Linked DNA regions of Homo sapiens: region 1 is linked to region 2. Evidence: promoter capture Hi-C in human tissues and cell types (Jung and others, 2019). All regions are on one chromosome and are shown on one strand. Each heading gives the region's core, a stretch centred on a gene start or on the middle of the fragment in contact. The rest is flanking DNA. Distances are from core to core; before and after follow the strand shown. Region 1 overlaps MYLK (myosin light chain kinase). Region 2 holds the start of CCDC14 (coiled-coil domain containing 14).

What was found. Contacts are between HindIII fragments. The study calls those that stand out against the background at their distance.
Region 1: a fragment that was not itself captured here is called in contact with the fragment with the promoter of CCDC14 in region 2 in 2 of the 25 tissues and cell types used here (IMR-90 fibroblasts and pancreas).

Annotation. Positions count from the first base shown.
Region 1 is chr3:123,808,596-123,815,430 of GRCh38, forward strand. All of the region lies in intron 3 of MYLK (myosin light chain kinase), which reads right to left. It overlaps LOC124906346 (small nucleolar RNA SNORA5), which reads left to right and starts at 5,482; the gene lies at 5,482-5,612. The HindIII fragment of the contact is 3,385 bases long and covers 2,288-5,672 here.
Region 2 is chr3:123,955,897-123,962,939 of GRCh38, forward strand. CCDC14 (coiled-coil domain containing 14) reads right to left here and starts at 5,333. Exons shown (of 13, transcript NM_001366335.1): 1 at 5,248-5,333; 2 at 844-899; 3 at 459-531; 4 at 150-219; 5 at 1-69. The coding sequence starts at 5,277. RefSeq lists a silencer at 5,341-5,651. The HindIII fragment of the contact is 4,558 bases long and covers 4,611-7,043 here.

The DNA.
Region 1 (6,835 bases), core at 2,730-5,229, 150 kb before region 2:
ATACATGCTCTTTCTCTACTGTCCTCAGGGATGGCTAAGTCAGAGAAGCACTGGTCCAATTACAGAAAGGAAACCTAAGGTCCAGACAAGTGCAGTGACTGAACCACATATCGATTGTCACTAATACAAACAACCCATTTATTGAATGCTTATTGAGGACTAGGTACTGTACTGAGGGCTTTATATAAGTTTACTGTAATTTTCAAAGTAATTCTATAAGATACATACTGTATTACTTTCATTTTAAAGATAAAGGAAGCACTCAGAAGTTGAGTAATAGTAGCCAAAGTTCTCAAAGCTAATAAGTAACGGCTACTTATTATCAACTGGATTTGAACTGAGGTCTCTGATTCCAGGCTTCAGACCCTTGGTGACAAGGTCACATTGTTAGAGATGCCACACGGAAGAGCTGGGAGTGGACTGGAGTTCAAAGGTCCTGGTGTCCTGTCCTGGCTCTGCTGCTAGATTGCACATAATCACAGAACTCAGAGAGCCCCTGGCTCACCTTCTCAGTCTATAGATAAGAAAACCAAGGCCTACAGAGAAGAAACTGACTTAAGGCCACAACATTTCAGGGACAGGGTCTGCTAACAGTGAGGCCCTGAGGGAGTGTCCTGACCTCTCTGGGGTTAGAAGACCTCTAAGCAGGCCAGGCGTGGTGGCTCACGCCTGTAATCCCAGCACTTTGGGAGGCCAAGGTGGGCAGATCACTTGAGGTCAGGAGTTCGAGACAAGCCTGGCCAACATGGTGAAACAGCATCTCTACTAAAAATACAAAAAGGTAGCCAGGTGTGGTGGCAGGCACCTGTAATCCCAGCTACTTGGGAGGCTGAGGCAGGAGAATCGCTTGAACCCAGGAGGCGGAAGTTGTGGTGAGCCAAGATTGCACCACTGCACTCCAGCCTGGGCAACAAGAGTGAAACTTCGTCTAAAAAACAAAAACAAACAAACAAAAAGAAGACCTCTAAACATATAATCTTAGGTGCACATCCTGGCAGTCTCTCTGTGAGCTCCAGCACCTGCAGAGCCACTCGCACACTCTGCTCTGCAGACAGCAGCTCAGACACACTATCCTAAACCTCTCACCAGTAAGCAGGATGGAGCATACTAAGGAAACCTATTTGACAATCCCAGTTGCCCTGCTTCTGAGACTAGCTTGTCAGTCTGCTAGTGATGAGCTAAGCCTTGTATTACAGGAAATAGGACGTACACGCAGTAGCCAAATGCCACAGCCACAACACACAGCCCTCTCAGCAAGGAAATTCCAGAAGTTCATAATTTCCTGCGGTTCTTATACATAGGAATCCTCTTCTATATTCCAACTTCTTAGGCCACTGTTGTTTGTCTAAAAGGCCTACTCCACAGCTGGACAAAAGGATTGAGAAGATGGGACTCTCCTGACTATTTCGAACAGTTTACCTGATCATGGTTCTCAAGCTTTATCAGGTTTGTGCTCTCAGCAGAGCAGGAAGAACTAGGGCCTAAGGCTCAGAACTCATTACCTGTCCGCACACCCATCACTGTGTATTTACTGAGTGCCCACAATACCCGCTAGGACTATAAATAAGGTGAGAGGTTCAACTACCTCCTCCCAATACAATGACATAAGTGCTGTAGGTGAAACGCGGACATAGGCCCCTCCCCCAGACCTCAGGACAGAATGGCCGTGTTTCCCGTGGTTCCCATAGTCTCCCTGTGACTTCCCTCTCCTCCCCTGCCCCTGCTTCCCTTCCCAATCAAGGTGGCCACTCTCTGGAACGAAGAGTTCAATCTGCATCTCCCTGTGAGCCATGGGTGAGCAGGGTGGCCCTGGGTCTGGAGCTGGCGTCTGTTGAGCCTAGGCCTTTCTGGGCCTCAATCTCAGGCTTGGGCCGGCCCACTGTGTCAGGGTTCAGCCCTCTCTGCTTCATTTCTGGCGCTCAATAGAATACAAAATGAGGAAATGTAAGCCAGCTCTAAGCCTGGCCCTGGCTCTGCCAATGGGGATGCCAGTCATGTCTCTTCTAGATGAACAATCCCCCCAACAGGCTCAGGACAGTTCTCACCTTCCCTGTCGTGCTCCTCAGGTAGGCAGGTGAACCCACTCAAGCACCAGCTGCATGCAATGCCTGTGGCAGGACTGGCCGGGAGTCCAGTCAGACCCTTGGCTGTCCTCATGTGACTCACACAGGCCCTTCCACACCATGCCCTGCCTGTCTCCCAAAGGACACCCTCCAGTTCCAGGTTGTCTGCAGGGCAGTCAGTGATGTTGCTGAGAACAACTGATTTTTGCCATCTGCAATGATGGGTGATAACAGAGATCGACACACTTTTCTCCCTTAACAGTCTCATTTTTCTAGCAATCATGGCTACCTTTTTCTCCTCACACTTCACCAAAGATACTAATGAGGCTAACACATGTTTCTCCTTTTCTCCCAGCCCTAAATCTCTTCTAGAATGGGGCTAACTGGAAAGAAATGGTGACCTCTGAGAACCTGGAGAAGGTATGGAAAAAACCAATGATCAACTGAGAGCACAGCCCATCAGCAGGAACACAAAGAGGAACTTCTGCTCGGAGGTGTCAGCTCAGCTGGTTTCCAGTGGAGAGGAGAAAGTGCGTGTCCCCTCTCAACCCTTTCTGAAACAGGGAGCCATTTGCACTCGGGGTGAGGGAGCCCTTCCACACAGGATCCTCCATCAGCTGCAAGGGGGAAGTACAGGCAAATGCAGGGCCAACAGGGAGATCAATGGACCACCATCAGCTATTAGCTGCACTCATACCTGGCTCAGGGATCATGGGCCTTGAGGATATGAGGCTCAACTTCCAATAGGGAATTTGGAATCCTATTGGAGAAAACAGATTATCAAAGAGAAAAATAGAGCCCCAGGAGCCAGGAAAGTGGGATGGAAAATTAAAAAGCTAATGGGGCATTGACCTGTTCAAAGGCCCTAAAACCCTTCATGCTTGTCTACTCCTGAACTTGAAATTCCACACCCTACCGGGGACACTGTGCTAAACAAAGGCAGCAGTTCATTTTTTTTAGCATTCAGCCTGGAGTGCCTAGCATTTATTGAGTGTTAGATGCTCTCTCTCGCCAACAGTAACAAGATTGGTATAGTGCTCTGAAGAGCAGTATGTTGTTTATCATCCCTGTAAAGCTTTGAAACGGCAATTCTAGTGCCAGAACATTTTCTTTCAAGCAATTTAGGTAAGCTTCTACCTGGTGGACACAGCAGCCAGCCAGCTAGGCCCCTCCAGGTGTGATTGATTAGGCCAGAAAGCAGTACTTCACATACTTATTTGTATCATTTTTCTATAAAAACATATCTATTAAATTAACAATTCACTTCTAACTACTAACCCCCATTTCTAACAGTTATATAACATTGAACAGAATGCTATCACCTGGAGCTTTTATCATTAACGCTCAATATAAAGAATCCATTTTTAATCTCACTCTGGTTTTTTGTCATTACCCAATATGGAACTGTTCTTAGAGAAAGCAGACCCCTGGGACTTCTCAGAGTCAGCGATAGAGATTCAGGACGCCTACACTGAAGAACTCTTGCCCCCCAGTTCTGTTCCCCCTCATACCTATTAGTCAGGGCTGGGTTCTATCACCTTAATGGCTTCATCCCGCTCTGCTTCTGGGCTCAAGAGAAAAACTGAATTCATTATTGACAGCACCTGTTCCTTGTGATGTAAGCTTAAACCAAATGAGGGGCGGTCAGAACCAACTTGCTTACACCTGTTTCAGTTTAAGACTTTGCAGTGGTACTTTCTCCCCCACTGAAAGTCAGGTTTCCCCACCCAACCTCTCTAGGAAGCTATGGTTTGACATTAGCCCATGCTTGCTCAGGTGTCCTCTCCACAGATCCCGGCCAATTCCATATCTAGCCTGGCCTCTAAAGCAGAGCGTTCTCTCTTGAGTGAGACAGTGGTTTCCCCTTATCTCTTAACTAGAGACTTAAAACAGTGTCCAGGTGCCAAAAGGTAATTTCTTGCTTAAGTCCAGGAAAAGCCAGAGTTTGCCCCAACACTTGTCACCTGTGTCCCTCAACCAACCAACTGAACAAAACATCTATGAAAGACCTAGATGTCTCTTTACTTTGGAAATCCCTGATGCAGGGCCAACTGTTAATCTGTTTGTTCACACATCCAGTCAGCTGTGCCTGTCACGGCTTCTCCGTTGACTGGGGGCCCCACTGAGCTGAGGCTGTCTGTGAGGAGATACTTTGTGAAGGTCTTTACCTCCTGTTTCGCAGTGCTCCCAAGATGTCCAGCCAGGCATATTGGGGCACTCAGGGTCACACCAATTCTCCTGTGGGCACAGGGAAGGGGGCCTTCTCCACAATCCCACCCCACTTTTCTTGCAAGATGAACCTAGGCTTGGCTCCCAGGCTAGATCACTGATGGTCAACTTGGCAGTCTGCTCAGTAATGGGGTTCCCAAAAAACGTGCCTTGACAGAGCCGATAGAAGAAAGGGCAGACAGCAGGAAGTAAACAGAGCCCACTCAGGCCAAGTCCCTATCTGCTTAAAGTTATCATCCTCTACCATTTGAACTGATTTTTGCACTAGCCATACCAGGGCTTTTTCATGAAAAGTCAAGAACTTGCTAATGCTAAAAGGTTGCAAATAGGGGAAGGTTCAGCTGGCAAATTATTTACCCTTACTTAAGCTTCTGCTTATTGAGATTTTAATGGTCATGTACCAGGTTTGTGGGATGGGGGAGGAAGACTGCAAGGGGAAAAGGAGCTCTTGGGTCAAAGTTAAATATGAATTCTAGCCACATGCTGGGGCAGCTTGGGAATAATTACCTTGGTTATCTTAATCAGGATAGACAGCAGAACTGTATTCATCTACAACACCTGGGCCACTTCTCCATCAGGCTGGGCCCACCTCTGCGTCAGGGAATCTTAATTCACTGTCTCTCTCTCTCTTTTTTTTTTTTGAGATGGAGTCTCGCTCTGTTGCCCAGGCTGGAATGCAGTGACGTGATCTCAGCTCACTGCAACCTCTGCCTCCCGGGTTCAAGCGATTCTCCTGCCTCAGCCTCCCGAGTTGCTGGGATTACAGACATGTGCGACCACGCCTGACTAATTTTTGTATTTTTAGTAGAGACGGGGTTTCACCATGTTGGCCAGGCTGGGCTCGAACTCCCAACCTCAAGCAATCTGCCTGCCTTAGCCTCCCAAAGTGCTGGGATTACAGGCATGAGCCACCATGCCCGGACAATTCACGGCCTCTTAAGCACTAGAGGCAACCAGCAGAGCAACTGTCATCAACCCAGAATGTCCTCCAACCTCCTTTTCAATAATTAGGGTGACCACATAACATATTATCCAAATGAGAGCTCTTGAGAATGGAAAGGGCTCTTTGAATACTCATGCTGGGACTATTCAGGGGAGCCGGGCTATACATAAGGCCACCTCTACCCTAATCACTCCCATGTCTCCCTAAGTCTAGACACAAGACATGACTTCAAAGATATCTTCCCCATGCAGCTGTGTCAAATTTGGTGCCTGCCCTGCCTGTGTAGGCACTGACCCAGAAGGCTGCCACAGAAACACTGACTCATGGGCCCTGTTCCTGTGTCTCGGGCTCAGGGATAAATTTGGTTACAGATACCAAGCCTCTAGAAAAACAAAAGACAAAGGTATCTTCCCCGGCCACATTCACCCTATTCCGGCCAAGCTCAGGCTTCATGTCCCCTCTGTCCAGGAACCTGTTATTTCACACTCCGGGTTATTTTGGACATGTTCTCATAGCTGTCCTTACTCCTTTGCTAGACAGACAGTGTCTTGGTTTCTGACTCTTTACAGGAATGTTGAACTCACCCGAGTTCCCTTGTCTCATCATCTTTTGTCATTCATAAACAAATAAACAATATTGGCTAAAAGTTTGGTCGTGAGTACGATTACAAATGACTTTTCCCCCAATATAAATACTATAATTTTCTGTAATATTTTTCCAATCTGTTTCTATGTATGTACTTTTAAAAATAAAATTATATATACAAATTATCATTGCCTTCATTTTTCATGCTTTTCCTCAGATATGGAACACTCTTCATAAATCTTATTTTCAGTGACTGTATCATATTCTAGCAAGTAGACAAGCCAAAACTTAATGATGCCCCTGTTATTTACTATTTAGGTTGCTTCCAATTTCATTAAAACAAACAGTTTCATGGACATAAACTGATCCTTTCTTTCTTTCTTTCTTTCTTTTTTTAGATGGAGTCTCATTCTGTTACCCAGGCTGGAGTACAGCGGCATGATCTCGGCTCACTGCAACCTCCACCTCCCAGGTTCAAGCAAGTCTCCTGTCTCAGCCTCCCGAGTAGCTAGGACTACAGGCACCTGACACCATGCCTGGCTAATTTTTGTATTTTTAGTAGAGACAGGGTTTCACCTTGTTGGTCAGGCTGGTCTTGAACTCCTGACCTCAGGTGATTCACCCACCTTGGCCTCCCAAAGCACTGGGATTACAGGCATGAGCCACCACACCTGGCCCCTTTATTTCCATAATAATCCTTTAGATTATTTCCCCAAGATACATTTCAAGAACTTCAATTACTGAGTCAGAGTGCATGGGATTTTATGGCTCTTGCATCCAGGTCCTCTTGATTCCTGTCAACTTGCCTGGTGCTGACTTGTGGCTCCCCAGTATTTTACTCTCCTGCCTCAGCCTCCGTTTAAGCTTGTTCTTCTTGATCTGGTGCCAGAATTCAGGCAAGTATCAGGTCCAGGGATTCCTACATGGTTTGAAGGGATGTACACTTAGATACCCAACCAAGTTAGGCAAGCCTTGGGAAGTGAGGCAAGTATTGAGTAAGACAGAAAAGGATCCA
Region 2 (7,043 bases), core at 4,083-6,582:
TTGATCCGTATCTTTTGCTTTCTAAAGGTCTAGAATTAGATCTGTTTTCTAAATATGCTGTTTCTGAACCTATTAATAAAACAAAAATTTGTTACATCAAAATAATGACTTGAGATAAGGTGATCAGCAAAGAATTAAAAAAAAAAAACCTGAATCTTCATTTCTCAAAATGTCCCTCAGCAAAGAAGCACAACCATCAAGCCCGTGTACAGTTTCAGCCTGTAAGAAATAAAGTCATTTAGAATACATTTGTATATGACTGTTAGTGTAGGAAAAAATATAAATTATGTAGTTTTAAAATTTGTTTATTTACAAACTATTATTGGTAGAAAAGATGTTTTAAAGCAACAGACTTCATACTTCCTTAGAGCAATTAATACTTTGCATTTTATTCCTACTTTTTAGCTACTATTTGAAAACTAATTAAAATAGTGTGTATTGTATCTATTCAATCTTACCTGACTTTCTGAATCAGAATGGATGGAATAGCCAGAATCTGCATTAAAACGTGGTATTTTTCTTAAATAGGTCCTGGAAAACAAGCTTATTAATATTCTTACAAATATTTTTCCCAAAATATATTAGTAAGTAGTCATTTTCTTTCCAGCAAAGACAAGAAAGCTTGTCCAACCATGTACAAGATGAATTTATAAACACATTCTGAAGATCAGAAAGACTGTTAAATACTAAAATGATTAACATGGGTAGACATGAAAAATTGTTCCTCAGAGCTTGTGATGGTAGAGGCCTACCTAATTTTCTGGGGTAGACGACATGTCATCCAGCCCAAAGACCTGAAAAATTCCTTGAAATCTGAAGTTGTAAACGTCTTCAAGTACTTACGCTTTCTTTCCATTTGTTAATTTAGCAGGTCCAGTGTGCCTTCCTGAAGATAACACCTATGACATAATATATTATAGCAGATAAACAAATATTTTTCTATTATATTTTCAATATGCTATCTTGACAAAATTTAATGTCATTTTTTTCTTTTATTCATCTTCTCAAACTGAAACTCTGCATCCATTAAACAATACCTTTCCATCCCCTCTTCTCCCTGACCCTAGCAACTATCATCCTAGTTTCTATGAATTTGACTAGTCTAGAAACTTTATATAACTGAAATAATACAATATTTGTTCTTTTGTGACTGGCTTATTTCACTTAGCATAATGTCTTCAAGCTTCATCTATATTGTAGCATGTGTCAAAATTTTTCTTCCTTTTTGAGGTCAAATATATTCCATTATATGTATGTACCACATTATTCACTGTTTTAATTAATGTGATATATCCTAAAAATACACAATTATAATTTAATTCATATATTAAATTTCTTTTATGTAAAACGTCAAGCAAACTACACATATATTTGTTCCTTAAGTCTATTTAAGGTGAAAAGGAAATTGAGATACTATTTTAAACCAGAAGTAACTACTACACTAAGTTCAGACTATATTAATCCCAAAATATGTTCTATAGTCCCAAATTCTTTGAAACATGCAAGTTAATTCATGATATAGGACAGAGTTCTTAACTCTGGTTCCTTTTATGTACATTCTTTAGAATGCCTGATTAGACCAGGAAGTGAGAACTCTACCCTGTCTCTTTATCTACATCTCACTGTCTTAATTTTTCTTTTTAAATTCATATACCACTGTTGTTTTCTTAAACTTTTTTGTTTTAAAAGTGACAATAATGGACAACCTTTTGTGTAGAAAAACAGGAAAAAATAAGCATTTGCTTTTACATGCATCCAGTATCTTGGGAGTTATGCCAGAAACAGTTAATCATGGTTGCCTCTGGGGAGGGAAACAGAGTATCTGGGGGACAGAGCGAGAAGGGACACTTTCCATGGTATACTATTTTATATCTTAATAATTTTATATCAGATAAATATAATCTTTATTCAAAATAATTTTAAATAGACATGAGAAAGTCCCTGATTCCCCCCCTAGTTCCACCCTCCAGATGTAGTCACTGTTGGCAGTTTTATTTATAATTTCTCTTCACATATTTAATTTCATCTCCAGATAGCTTTGAGCTGTAACTACCAAACTTTCTAAAGTTATACGGCATTCTATTATATGCTTGAATATGTGCTCCATCCTTCTAAGAATGTCACTGAGAATACATTTTTTAAAAACTGGGTTGGTAAGAGTTATACGTCTTGAGATAACTTGGATTATGATGGAGGGTCATGAAGCCAGCAGTGAGAACCAACAATGTAGGAAATAAGACCTTGTATAACATCACACCACTGGTCTCTGCATCACACTCTCAGGGTCCTTCCCTTTGGTATATTTATGTCGATGTCTTGGCTGGAATCATAATAAAAAATCCAAGCCATGACACTATAATACTATACCCTGGATCGAGTCCAAAAACAACTACCACAATTAAAGTACACTGTCTGAGGTATATGTCTGGCATAACTGTAAGATTACATATGGTGTTTCTCCAAAAAATATACACAAGGCTATATTATAGAAAATCTGGTAAAGAAAACTACCCATGATAAAAGCACCTTGAAACAGTAACTGTCATATTGGAACAATTCCTTTCAATTTTTTTTTGTAGTTTCTACTATGAAATAATAGTACAAAGATGCCCTATATATGCTTCACTCAGATTCTGTGAACCTTGACATTTTCCATATTCTCTCTCAATATATATACACAGCAGTACTTTTTGCCTGAACCATTAGAGTTAAGTTTGCAGATACAATACTCCTTTACTCCTAAATGTTTCCTAAAAACAAGGCCATTCTCTAACATAACCACAGTATAATTATCAAAACCAGGAAATTAACATTGATACAGAATTACAATCTAATATTCAGACCTTATTCACATGTTGCCAATTATCCCAATACTGTTCTTTACAAAAAAAAACCCAAAAAACAAAAATCCCTCTGGTTCACGCCCAATCCATGCTCACATTCTGTTTCTATGAGTTTTAACTATTTAGGTACTTTATGTAAGTAAAATCATGCAGTATTTGTCCTTCTGTGACTAGCTTATTTCACTTAGCATAATGTCTTCAAGTTTTGTCTCTGTTGTTGCATATGACAGCTATTTCTTTCTTTTTAAAGGTTGAATAATAGTCCATTGTATGTATATACCATATTTTCTTTATCTGTTCATCTGCAGATAGAATTTGGGTTGTTCCCACATTTGGCTATTGTGAATAGTGCTGCAATGAACACAAGAGTGCAAATATCTCTTCTATATCCTGATTTCAATTCTTTTGGATAAATTCCCAGAAGTAGAATTGCTGGGTGATATAGTTCTATATTTAATTTGGTGAGGAATCTCCATATTGTTTTCCATAGCAGCTATACCATTTTACATTCCCACTGACAGTGTACAAGGGTTCCAATTCTTCCACATCCTTGCCAACACTTGTTTTCATTTTTTTAATGTCATCCTAACAGGGGTTAGGTGATAGCTCATTGTGGTTTTAATTTGCATTTCCTGGATTAGTGATGTTGAGCATCTTTTCATATACCTGCTGGCCATCTGTACATTTTCTTTGGAGAAATGTCTATTCAAATCCTTTTTTCGTTTTTTAACCAGGTTATGTGTTGTTCTGCTTTTGAGTTATAGAAATTCCTTATATGTATTTTGGATATTATTTATCAGATACATGGCTTGGAAATATTTTCTCCCATTCTGTAGATTGCCTTTTCACTCCATTAATCATTTCCTGTGCTGTGCAGAAGCTTTTTAGTTTGATGTGTCCATGCTCTTCTTATATTACCCCTGCTCAGCCCTGGAGTTGGTCATTTCTCCAAGAAGCCATGACTCCTTAGTGGACAGTGGTACGTGGAAACCAAGATCTAGGTACTAGATGTGTTCTTTGCTATTGGGGCCTCCAATCTTTTTTCATATGCATTTTTTACTTAGTCATAATACCTAGATATTTGCAATTTTAAATCCTGTGTTTTCTACTTTTAAATCTTTTTCATATTCATAAATTTTTAATGGTTGTATAATATTTCCTTCAGTGGAAGTAATATAATAATGGTCTTGGTTTGCTTCATATTTTTCACAATTAAAAAAACAAACCTGGAATAAGCCTTTCTATCTACTGAAAACAGCCTTTTTATATTTAGGATTAAAAAGAAAATTATTTGGTGAAAGGTTATTAGCAATTTAATAACCCTTGATACAAACTGCAAAGCTGCTCTCCAAAAGGAGTGTCCTAATCACAATACAGGAGAATCAGTTTGCTTTATTTTACACTTACTTCTACGAGGTTATTATCATTAAACTTTTAATTTTGCTATTTGAGAATCATATAAGCATTTCTTAGTAGTCATATCTCCTACCAACAAGTACAAGATAATACTGCCTTTGTAGAATGACTTACAGTGTGCTAAGGTCTTTCATTTTCACTTAATCCATACCCTGTGAGTTATTATTTGTGAGGTGGGAACCTAAATTTCAGAAAAGTGGTTTGTTCAAAGTCATACATCTACTAGGTAAAATGTTTAAAAGAAGAATGGACTCTGGCATCAGTTTTGTGAGTCTGAATCTTGTTTCCACAGCTGTGTAACTGCCAAGTTATTTGAATCCTCCAGCCCTCGATTTCCTCATATATAAAATAGGGATAATAGTACTTACCTCATAAGGATATCGTGACTATTAAATGAGTTATTCTATGTAATACATAAAAGCACTTACAGTAGCATCTGCCACATAAGTCCTATCTAAATGTTGGCTGCTGTTATCATTAAGATGGTGGCAAACTACGTGTTTTAAAGGGAACTAAATTTTGTTGTATGTCTACAACAACTGTGTGATCGATGTTTTTACCGGGTTCTCTTATTTAACCTTCTCAATTCTTTGAGACAGGATTTTATGCTTATTTCTGCCTATTTTGCAGCTAAGGAATAGGAAGTTCTGAGCAGTAAAAAGTAGTAGACTCTCAATCTGCAGGTGACTGAAGCTAGGAGAGGTTAAGTCACTCGACGCAGCGGCGAAGGCTGGGACTCGAACCCGGGCCTGACCCCAAAGCCGGCGCTCTAGACTAGGGCTACGACGATTTAAACAGAAACATCTAGAGACCGAGCGGCCGTGTTACGACGGGAAGATTAGGTGTTCCCTGCACCTCTGTCCCAGCACTTTAATGTCGCCGCATTGTCTTTGTCTTTTTTCGAGCAGAGTTTTACAAGTTCCTGGCCCGAAAACCCCCCTGTCCCTCTCCATCCCCACAGCGGACTCCTCAGGTCCTCAGCCCTCACCTGGCCCGGTCGAGCTCCAGACCTGACCATCTCTCGCCGCCTCAGAGAAGCCCAGACCGAGGGAAGTGAAGCCTCACGGTAAAAAGAATTAACCGCCGTGGGCTCCCGGACCTTCTTGGCCCGCCCGCCGAGCTTCCGCTTCCGGAAAGGATCCCGCCGAATGCCGCGCTTCATAGTCTCCGACGCGCCTCCACTCCCTTTCTCCTGCTCCAGGCCCAGCGCCTTGGGCGTACGCAATAGACCCCTCCAAGCTTCCCGGCTTGTCACCCACCGGCAGGGGTTGGGAGAAGCCAATAAACGGCGAACGGGGCGGGGCCAAGGCATGGCTGGGGCGGGGCCGGGGCGGAGCCGCCGAGAAAAGAGTTAAGCGGAGGTTCCAGGACTTGCGGTGGGGAAAACGGGGACGAGGACCCGCCAGCGCCAGAGGATGGGACAGGGGTAGGAGGCGAATAGGTTTCAGAAGGAATTGAGCGCGACTTTTTGGGTTTTCGCTCTTTATTTTTAGTTTGGCATCGTGTGCCTTTTGGAAGATTTTGTTCTTGATATTCTATAAAAATAAGACCTCGGGGTTGTTACCTTTGCGTGTGATGGAAATTGCAGAATTATTCCCTGTGGCCACTGATCTCAGAACGGTGTTCATTAGTTGGGATTTTGGGTTTACTTCCATGCGTACTTGTCTCCTCTTATGTTGAGGTAATTACTTTTGATGAAAAATGACACAACATTCTTAGTATTGGCATGTGCACTCATTTTAATGAGGATTTTAGTCATTGGTTTTTAAGGCATTGAGTTTTGGGTTAATGATTTAAATCAAGTTGAAGAGAGATAACTCAGTTTATTCCATTTCAACTGTCACCCAGGCAGGAGTGCAGTGGCGCAATCTCAGCTCACTGCAACCTCTGCCTCCTGGGTTCCAGCGATTCTCCTGCCTCAGCCTCCTGAAGAGCTGGGATTACAGGTGCGTGCCACCACACGCGGCTAATTTTTGTATTTTTAGTAGAGACAGGGTTTCACCCTGTTGGCCAGGCTGGTCTCACACTCCTGACCTCAGGTGATCCGCCCGCCTTGGCCTCCAAAGTGCTGGAATTACAGTGGTGAGCCACCATGCCCGGCCTCATTTCTTTTTAATGGAGAAAAGAGCTACGCTTTAAAAGTCTGTTACAATTAATGTCAAAGCCCAGGAACTAAAATATGTCCACCAAAATATCACACACTTATCCTGAGTGATTTTAGGAAATGAGTATTTCACAGATTTAGTTTTGAATTAGATCAAACTGTGAAAACCTCTCCTTTCCTTCCCCAGCCCTCACATAACTTCATAACTTGCTGACATATTCACCTGAAATTAAGGGGTTTTTTTTAGTTAAGTTGATATTTTTTGAATTCATATTGATTTTTCTTAATACATGTTTATTTTAGAAAATATAGATAAGCAAAAAGGAAAAGACCACCCATAACCCCATTACCCATGAGTTATCACTTTGAACAGCTTGGTGCATTCCCTTCAAGATTTTTTCCACCTACATATATATGTATAAATGTATTACGACAATATGAAATAATAGGTATTACTGTAACATGCGTGTTTTCTCTTAATATCTAATCAACATTGTTTCTCATTAGTCTACAATTATAAAATGGCTGCCTGGTGTTCCATGATTCACTTCCCTAGTGTTGGGAATGTTATGCCCCCACCCCGTTTCATTTTGTTGTTTGCTATTATAAATAATGTTGCAGTGAGCTGAGATCTGCAAATGAACTAGATAGAGAGTGGAGAGCAGAGTATTCTAAAGATG